2 separate regions of the Homo sapiens genome follow, and region 1 is linked to region 2. Evidence: promoter capture Hi-C in 16 types of primary human blood cells and fetal thymus (Javierre and others, 2016). All regions are on one chromosome and are shown on one strand. The core of a region is centred on a gene start or on the middle of the fragment in contact, and the rest is flanking DNA. Distances in the headings are between cores, read along the strand shown.

Region 1 (4,992 bases), core at 424-2,923, 51 kb before region 2:
AAGAGCTCTTAGAAATTAAAAATATCATCATAGAAATGAAAGACTCAATAGAAGAATTGGGAAATCAAGTTGAGGAAATTTACTGGAAAGCAGGGAGGAAATGCGAGAAAAAAGATTGAGAACTGGCTCAGGATGTTAGATATCTAAATGGAATTCCAGAAAGAGAGAATAGAAAAAAAAAAAAAAAAAAGAAGAAGAAGAAAGGCAAAGAAACAGTTTTGTCCTAAGGCTAAATGAGTTTTTCCCATGGAACGGGCCTACCAAGTGCTCAAAGTAGACACAATACAAAGTCTATCATTATGACACAAAATTTCATAACACTAGGAACAGAGAAAAGAGCTTACAAATTTTCTGACAGAGAGTGAAAGGCTTCGTACAAATATCAAGTATCAGAATGAATGATATTCTTGACAGTAACATTGGAAGGTAAAACACAATAAGGAAGTGCATTCCAAATTCACAGGAGAATGACAGTTTCCCAACAAACATGAAAAAAGCTGCTCGATATCAGTAATAAAAGAGGACAATTGGCCGGGCACGGTGGCTCACGCCTGTAATCCCAGCACTTTGGGAGGCCGAGGTGGGTGGATTACTTGAGGTCAGGAGCTCAAGACCAGCCTGGCCAACATGGTGAAACCCCGTCTCTACCAAAAATACAAAAAAAATTAGCCAGGCATGGTGGCACACCCCTGTAATCCCAGCTACTCGGGAGGCTGAGGCAGGAGAATTGCTTGAGCCCAGAAGGCAGAGGTTGCAGTGAGCCAAGATCGTGCCACTGCACTCCAGCCTGGCCGACAGAGTGAGACTCTGTCTCAAAAAATAAATAAACAAATAAATAAATAATTAAATAAATATAAAAAATATTAACACTGCTCAGTGTTGGCAAAGATACAGGAAAACAGACACAGCTTTCAGTTGTTTGAAACAACTAAAATATACCAGGGTCCACATTACCTGCAGGAGATACCAAAGGTCATTCTGGTGTCAAATTGTTTTGTTCTGGGTTTGACATTGGACTTGAGAGTTAGAAAATCCAGGACCTTTTTCAATTCATTCACAATTAATCCAAGAAACCTGATTTATCAATTTAATGCTTATTATGTTCTGGAAGAAATGCATAGGCTTGTAATGATAATTAAGATTCAATCTCATTCTCAATGAGATCTTGGGATTCCTGCAAGTTTGGCCTTCACTTATGCAATCTGTAAAATGAAGGCATTGGGCTTAGATGACTTAGATGGTTTCTTCAGTGTCTTACAGGCTTACATGTTATATTTTTGAATTGCTATAAAGCATGTTTTGCAAATTCTGACACCAAACAATGTTTTGCATTCCTATAGCACAGATAAACCATGTTTATAGTAGCCTTACTCATTCTCCATTGGGCCTTAGGTGGTACAGTGATGTCCAAGTGACTCGTGACCTCTCACTTCTTCCACTTTTCCAGGTAGAAGATCAGCCTTGCTCAGCCTCCTGGATTAGATGTTTTAAGAAAAGGAGAATTTGCATCAAAGTTCTGACATTAATTGTTTGAGGAAAAGAGGTAGATTTCCTAAAAATTCCCCTGAAGCCCATAGGATATATTCTCTTCAAAATAATGAGTGGGCCGGGTGCAGTGGCTCACACCTGTTATCCCAGCACTTTGGAAGGCCATGGTGGGCAGATCACTTGAGGTCAGGAGTTTGAGACCAGCCTGGCCAGCATGGTGAAACCCTGTCTCTACTAAAAATACAAAAATTAGCCGGATGTGGTGGTGCATGCCTGAGGTTGCAGACAGCCGAGATGGTGCCACTGCACTCCAGCCTGGGCAACAGAGCGAGACCCTGTCTCAGAAAAAAAAAAAAAAAGTTATATCCAGTCAAAATCCTAGAATCAGGTCAATGACTGTTTTTGATTACCTATTCTAACTCTAATGGAGATATGCCAAGGAAAGTGAATAACGCAGTAAACTTTAAAAAGTAAGTTCAGACATGTTCCTTATTGGCATATTTTAAAAAGGGATTCTAACATGCAGCCTCAAATATTTCTGAGAATTAAGTAAACATGTTAAATGAAGGAAAAAAATCTCTTATTCTCATAAATGACAAAACTGTACCATAAATGCAAACCAATTTAAGAGAATTAAAATTGACTTTTAAAATAAACTAAAACTTCAAACATTATGTTAAAAAAATTTTAAAAAGGTGAGACTGAAGATTTTGAAATTAACATGTTCTATTTCACAATTTTACTTATAGAATAATCTCATCATTCATAAATATAGAAACAGGAAAGGGGCTGCTTTATTTGGGGAAAAAATATTTCTCATGGTAGTGTTTCTCGAAGTGTCATTCATGAGCTACTTTTCTCAAAATTATCTGTGATGCTTGCTAAAAACACCCTGATGTCTGGACTTCTTCCCACACCACTGAATCAGAATCTCTGAATGGTGGGCCTGGGAATATTTAAATTTAACAATATCCACAAAGTATTCTATTGCACACTAAAATTTGAAAACACTGCCTTAGACAGCTATTAAAATTTGTATGTAAATGTCACGGATGGGCAGCATTTATACACGTTAGAGTTTGTATGTATATGTGATTTTTTTAAATGGTGGTATTTTTGAGTTATTGTCCCATATAATTATTTAGTTAGTTAGTTAGTTAGTTAGTTATGTTTTTTGAGATGGAGTCTCTCTGTGTTGCCCAGGCTGGAGTGCAGTGGCGCGATCTTGGCTCACTGCAACCTCTGCCTTCCGGGTTCAAGTGATTCTCCTGCCTCAGCCTCCCAAGTAGCTGGAACTACAGGCACGTGCCACCACCCCTGGCTAATTTTTGTGTTTTTGGTAGAGAGGAGGTTTCACCATGTTGGCCAGGCTCGTCTCCAACTCCTGACCTCAAGTGATCTGCCTGCCTTGGCCTCCTAAAGTGCTGGGATTATAGGCGTGACCCACTGTGCTCAGCCAAGGATTTGTGTATTAATATTTTATTTTAAATTTTATGATTGCTTTTAGACAATTATTTCATGTCATTAAACATATATGCAAATATGTATATATATATGTATTTGTGTGTATACATATGTGTATATATATATGCACACACACACACACACATATTCCTCAAGTTTCTTATGCTACCATAAAGTTTTGTCAGGAGCTTGAGTGGCTGTAAGAGGAACCAGATAAGAGAGAACAATAGTGTATTAAGGGAAGAGAGTGCGAAGGAGAGATGAGAACCAAGAAATCCATCTATGATGACTTTGAAAATGGAATTGGAGATCTGCCTGGGGATGCCACACTCCACTTCTTCACATTCATGTGAGACATGGGGAAGGCCAAGGGTTGAGAACAGGACGCCCTTCCCATGAGAAGAGCAGTCTGATTGTCTTGAGTGGCACAGTTAAGACCCAAAAATACAGTGGTTAAAAGAAATGGGCCGGGCGTGGTGGCTCACACCTGTAATCCCAGTACTTTGGGAGGCCAAGGCGGGTGGATCATGAGGTCAAGAGATCGAGGTAATCCTGGTCAACATGGTGAAACCCCGTCTCTACTAAAAATACAAAAATTAGCTGGATATGGTGGTACGCACCTGTAGTCCCAGCTACTCGTGAGGCTGAGGAAGGAGAATCGTTTGAACCCAGGAGGCAGAGGTTGCAGTGAGCTGAGATCCTGCCACTGCACCCCAGCCTGGTGACAGAGTGAGACTCCGTCTCAAAAAAAAAAAAAAAGAAAAAAGAAAGAAAGAAAGAAATGGAATGTTGGAGGGGACTGGCAGGTGGAAAATTTCAGACTTAACATGATAAGTAATAGGAAGCCACTGTAGCTTCCAAGTGAGGTATCTATCAGACAGGTCCTGGAAAACAACTAGATAAGTAAGTTTAAATCAACCAGGGGGAAAAAAGATTAAATGCCTTTTAACAATCATAATTAAAATTAATTAAAATATCCAAAGTAGAAATATAATTTGGATTTTTCCCAACCTCGACAAAATAAAATATTTGATTCTGGATAACCACTGGTACTTGCTACTTTCAGATAATTCATTCTTATTCTAATCATGCTCCCCAGTTAAAAATATAGCATATCAGGATTTGAATCTGATTTTAAGTTCTTAAACTTCAAGTTGACTGTATAAAAGCTAGAGAAAAAATACTTAATTAGTATAACATTTAATGTTTTATAGGAGAAAATTTTGCTCTACAAGTTCCCAAATAATATATACCACCAAAGTTTTTATTCAAAACACAGACAATAATACATGAATTCACTTGAAGAATAATATTCTCTCCCATTGGGTCTTGTCAGCAAATGTCTAATAGTAGTTTATAAAAAGAGCCCACTGTAGCATTGATTAGTTGTTACTATTTTTTTGGAAATTAAGAGTGGATCATGGAAAGAACATTAGTTATTAATTTACAAACTGAGCTTGGGGTGAGACCTCAGGGCAGGGGCACAACCTTTCTGTGTGTAACTTAAACAAGGTAGTTTGGGCCAAACTGATTGGTCCAATCAAGCTCTCCAATCAAATGTTCATATGTGTGTGTGTTTTGCCAACATTTTTTTTACCATTGGTTTTATGTGACTTGGCACATAAAACACTTGGCGCCATGTGTATGGTCATATACAGGGCATATTTGTCACTACACTGGCACCATGATCTATGGTCACATGGGGTCACCTGACACATTTATATAACCTGCCTAGCCTCTTACGGCATTTGAATCAGGCTACTGGAATAAGACCTACTTCACCTTCAAAAATTGTCATAAACTGGCACTCACTGAATCCACCAGGGGTCAGCACACCAAGCATTATCACCCCAATATTGATAGGAATTGAACAAAGAACAAAAATTTAGAAAGCTGAGAAAAGCCAAATATCCTTTGAAATGTGCATTTGCCCATAATTTTTTTTTTCCATTCAGGTCAGGCAAGTTGCCATATTTATGTTTGTTTTCAGCTGCTTCTGTCCTTCCCTCTGAGGACCAGGAACTCAGCAGTCATTAACCC
Region 2 (4,994 bases), core at 1,601-4,100:
AAAGCTGATGATTTCCCTTAGTATTTTTGTCTGTGCCTTCAACAGAAGCACCATGCTAAAACACTGTTGTGCTGCACAGCTGAGAATCTGGCATTTGTTGTGGGTGGAAGGCAGTGACCAAAGGTGGAGGCAGTTTGGGGAAGGTCAGTCAGTATTTCACGTTGTTCCTGGGGAAATAATCACAGAGACAGCCAGTCAGAAATGAGGCTGGTCCCCCTCTTCCCTGGCCTCCTGCCCCTTGGATTTGTTGGCACTTTGGCTGCCAACAGATTAATGAAATCTTTTCAATCCTGAAAGAAATGACAACCTCATCAGGAAAAAAGTGTATTTTCAGCATTAGATGGAAGATAATATCAAGAAACAAAATCTTTTCCTATGTAAGAGCTTTAATACTTACCTTGTGCAAAATGTTGTGAGTTAATATCGTGGTTTCAGGGGAACAATTTTTCTCCTCAAATCTTTAGAGTTATTTCCAGAATTTCAAAGCCTATTTCAAAAACTATAGTTTTGTCTAAAGTACAATCAGCTCTGTGAATGGAAGGGTTGCGGAAGGGAGAGTGTTCACACTGAGAGATGAGATAGTTATCTGCTTCCAATGCCAATGCATAACATGAATGCTGTCGAGTTTTTTTTAAAAAAGCTTGAGATTTGTAATGCCAAAAAAAAAAACCTCTAATGATTTTTTTAAAAGTTGAAACAAGATGAATTTAATTACTGAGCTGCTCACAATAACTAGGAAACAATTCCTCTGTTATAAATTGTATTTATGTATTTTTCCCATGCAAAAAGTACAGGAATTATGAAACACAAATGATTAGAATTGTACGTTAGATTTACATAGTGAATCTGAATAGAAATAACTCCTTTTCTTGGATAATAATATTTTACTTTAAATTAGGTTGTTATACTATTAAAGGAATCCAGATATATAAAGTTGTTATATTTTTCATCACAAAAGTATTTTTTAATGTAAAAAATTGTCACACTGTGTTTCATTATAAGGATTCATAAATTTGCCTCTTTTATTTTAATTTTTTACAGCTCTTTTTGAAGTACATTTTTTTTCTTTGAGACAGGGTCTTGCTCTGTTGTCCAGGCTGGAGTGCAGTGGCATGAATTTAGGTCAGCACAGCCTGGAACTCCTGGGCTCAAGCGATTGTCCTGCTTTGGCCTCCCAAAGTGTTGAAATTACAGTTGTGAGCCACTTCGCCTGGTCCAATTGCCTCTTTTAAAAAGAATTGTGTTTAGAAAAAGTGCTTGTTCATACCTGTTGAGGAGCACAGCTATCAGGAGAGCAAATGATTTTTTAAAAATATTTATTTATTTATTTATTTTTATTATTTTTTATTTTCTGAGACGGAGTCTTGCTCTATCACCCAGGCTGGAGTGCAGTAGTGCGATCTGCAACCTCCACTTGCTGGATTCAAGTGATTCTTGTGCCTCAGCCTCCTGAGTAGCTGGGATTACAGGCATGCTCCACTTTGCCCGGCTAATTTTTGTGTTTTTAGTACAGACGGGGTTTTGCCATGTTGCCTAGGCTGGTCTCGAACTCCTGACCTCAGGTGATCCACCCGCCTCGGCCTCCCAAAGTACTAGGATCAAGGCGTGACGACTATGCGTGGCCACAAATAATTTTTAAATCAATATTTAGAACACATTTAGGGTGAGTGTTTAGAGCTTGACAACTTTCTCATTGAAGATTATTCCGTTTAAGATTCAACAGCTCAAGAGTCTGCAAATCTAGATCCTTAACCAGAACTTGCTTTTATATCTTTTCCTTACAAGAAGAATACCCAGGCTGGGACTTCAAGGCCCCAGAGAGGCAGTGCAGCAAGTTCCTGGGTTCAAATCATCCTTCAGCTACTTCTTAGCTGTGAGACCTTGGGCAAGTTACCTAGCCTTTCTATGCCCCAGTTTCTTCATCTGTAATTTGGGGCTAGTAATCTCTTCTTCATAGGTTTGTTGCAAGATTAAATTAATTTACATTAAGGGCCAGGTGTGGTGACTCATGCCTGTAATCCCAGCACTTTGGGAGGCCAATGCGGGCAGATCACCTGAGGTCAGGAGTTCGAGACCAGTCTGGCCAACATGGCAAAACCCAGTCTCTACTAAAAATACAAAAAAATTAGCTGGGCGTGTTGGCGCACTTATAATCCCAGGTACTGGGGAGGCTGAGGCAGGGGAATCTCTTGAACCTGGGAGGTGGAAGTTGCAGTGAGCCAAGATCACGCCACTGCACTCCAGCCTGGGCGACAGAGCAAGACTCCATCTCCAAAACAAAACAAAACTAATTACTTTAAGAATTAGAACAGTTTATGACTGGTACATAGTAGATCCTCATTAGACACTAAAAATTATAATTACAATTGTTAATTATAATTATTTATTATTATAATTATATGAGCAATTATAGGAAAGCTCTCACTCTTTCTAAAGAATTTGCGTGAATAAAGGAAGACTAATTTTCTCAATGTCTTTTTAGTACACTCAGAATTTTCGGTACAGCAAATAATTTTCAGTGAAGTCAAAATTATTTAGATAAAGTCTTCTCTTCGTGCCCTAGCAGAAAATGTTCAGAAACAAAATGAAATAAAGAGACAAAGGAAAAAAAAAACTGGCAAAGGGTCAGGTTTTGAGAATTGTTTTCAAGAAGTCATTGTATTCAGATTGGTGGAGCAGGCTACTGTAAACCGTAAGTAGGAAATGAGAACCCGTTGTAAGTTGATAAAATGGATGTCTTTTCAACTAAACAGATTGCTATCAGCCTAACAGAGCCAACTCATGTTCCTTTTCGGCCGGTCATTTCCTGTACTAAGTGTCTATAAGAGCCGCCCATTTGGGTGTTTCTCAGGATTATAGGTTTTTAGGTCACGCAGAAACCCTGGGGAACGCCTGAAAAGGCTAAACACAAGCAGTTACATTATGCACAAGCTGGATGACGTGACCCCGCTGCTGCTGTGTGGAGAGGGAGGCTGCTGAACCCGAGCTGGTGTGAGCTTCTCTTGCCGTAAGTCCACGGGTGGCCAGGAGCACGTGTTAGTCTGGTTAAGAGCTCTGCTCAGAAGTAGCCGCTGCAGCTGAAGGTTTTCAGGCGGGCTGAAGGCTGGGCCGCTTCTTCATTCATTTCAGAAACTTGAACAGTGGGCCTTCTACACACGCTGTCTTTGTCAGCCTCAGGCAGTTCCTCCATGGATGAGACACAGGGGCCTCTGGCCATGACTGTCCATCTTCTTGCCAACTCTGGGCACGGCTCCCTTCTGCAGAGGACTCTGGACCAGCTCCTGGATTGCATTTGCCCAGAGGTCCGGCTCTTTCAGGTGTCTGAACGGGCCAGTCCTGTGAAATACTGTGAAAAGTCCCATTCCAAGCGGTCCCGGTTTCCAGGGATGTCCGTGTTGCTCTTCCTGCACGAAAGCCCGGGAGAGGATAGGCTATTTCGCGTCCTGGACTCTCTCCAGCATTCGCCATGGCAGTGCTACCCCACCCAGGACACTCGGGGAAGGCTGTGTCCCTACTTTTTTGCCAATCAGGAGTTCTACAGCCTGGACAGTCAGCTGCCCATCTGGGGGGTGAGGCAGGTGCACTGTGGCTCCGAGATCCTGAGGGTGACGCTGTACTGCAGTTTTGATAACTATGAAGACGCCATCAGACTCTACGAGATGATCCTGCAGAGAGAAGCGACCTTGCAAAAGAGCAATTTTTGTTTCTTCGTGCTCTATGCCTCCAAGAGCTTTGCTCTGCAGCTCTCCCTGAAGCAGCTGCCCCCGGGAATGTCAGTGGACCCCAAAGAGTCTTCGGTGCTGCAGTTTAAGGTTCAAGAGATCGGCCAGTTAGTGCCTCTGCTACCCAATCCATGCATGCCTATCAGCAGCACCAGGTGGCAGACTCAGGACTACGATGGCAACAAGATTCTGCTTCAGGTATTTCTGTTTTGTCTCAGATCTTGTAGAGGCTCATGGAGCTGTGTAATTTTACATCGGAATGGGCCTAAGCTAGTGGTTCTCAGACTTGGTTGCATATTAGCGTCCCTTAGGGTCTTTCATAAATTCCCACCCCAGGGCAGTTTGATCCGAATCTCTGGGAACATCCAGGCCTAGGTAACTTTTTTACAGCTTCTTGGATGACTGTAATCTGTAACAGGGTTGAGAATCACTGATCTCATAAAATCTCATCTGACAGATAAGAAAGTTCAGATTCCATGAATTTGCAGCTGACACAAGTACTTTATAGTAGAATCAGACAGGATTCTACTATAAAGATCAGAATCCTATTAAAGAATCGGCCTCCTTTCTCAGGCTTGCCGTTTAAATGCCCATCAACTATACCCCTATCCTTTGTTTACTCTTTGGGCTCAGGAATGTCACAAGCTCTTCTAATCTGACTTAAGGAAGTTGAAGTCATACTTATGTTTAGATATGGTTTTTTTAATTTTTAATTTTTTTATTTTTTAGAGATGGGAGTCTTCCTCTGTTGCCCAGACTCGAGTGCGGTGGTGCCATCATAGCTCCCTGAGGTCTTCACCTTCTGGGTTCAAGTGATCCTCCTGCCTTAGCCTCCTGATTAGCTGGGACTACAGGCACGTGCCGCCATGTCTGGCTATTTTATTTTATTTCTAGAGACGGGGTCTCACTATGTTGGCCGAGCTTGTTTAGGGATGTTAAGTTTGCAGTACTATTGACTTAATTTTTATTCTTTATTATTATACTTTAAGTTCTGGGGTACATGTGCACAAAGTGCAGGTTTGTTACACAGGTATACATGTGCCATATTGGTTTGTTGCACCCATCAACTCGTATTGACTTAATTTTTAAGCATCTTGCATCACTGTCAAATTTTACCACATACCAAGTTAGATAGAATGCTTTCTTAAAAAAACTTGAAATTAAAGCCTTCCTTTGTAACCATCCTCGAAAACCTAACATAGCATGTGTGTATTTAGTCATGATAGCTGCCGTGCATTGCCTTTCCATGGTATGTGAGCCTGGGCACTTAGT

What was found. The method cuts DNA at HindIII sites, captures the fragments that hold promoters and counts their contacts. A CHiCAGO score of 5 or more calls a contact.
Region 1: a fragment that was not itself captured here is called in contact with the fragment with the promoter of FAM124B in region 2 in 1 of 17 cell types (endothelial precursors); the score reaches 6.3 in endothelial precursors.

The regions. Positions count from the first base shown.
Region 1 is chr2:224,449,392-224,454,383 of GRCh38, reverse strand. No RefSeq gene overlaps it. Among named protein-coding and RNA genes, the nearest start is that of FAM124B, 50 kb to the right of the region's middle. The HindIII fragment of the contact is 7,871 bases long and covers 1-4,992 here.
Region 2 is chr2:224,399,963-224,404,956 of GRCh38, reverse strand. It overlaps FAM124B (family with sequence similarity 124 member B), which reads left to right and starts at 2,850. Exons shown (of 2, transcript NM_001122779.2): 1 at 2,850-3,920. The coding sequence starts at 3,189. The HindIII fragment of the contact is 5,745 bases long and covers 643-4,994 here.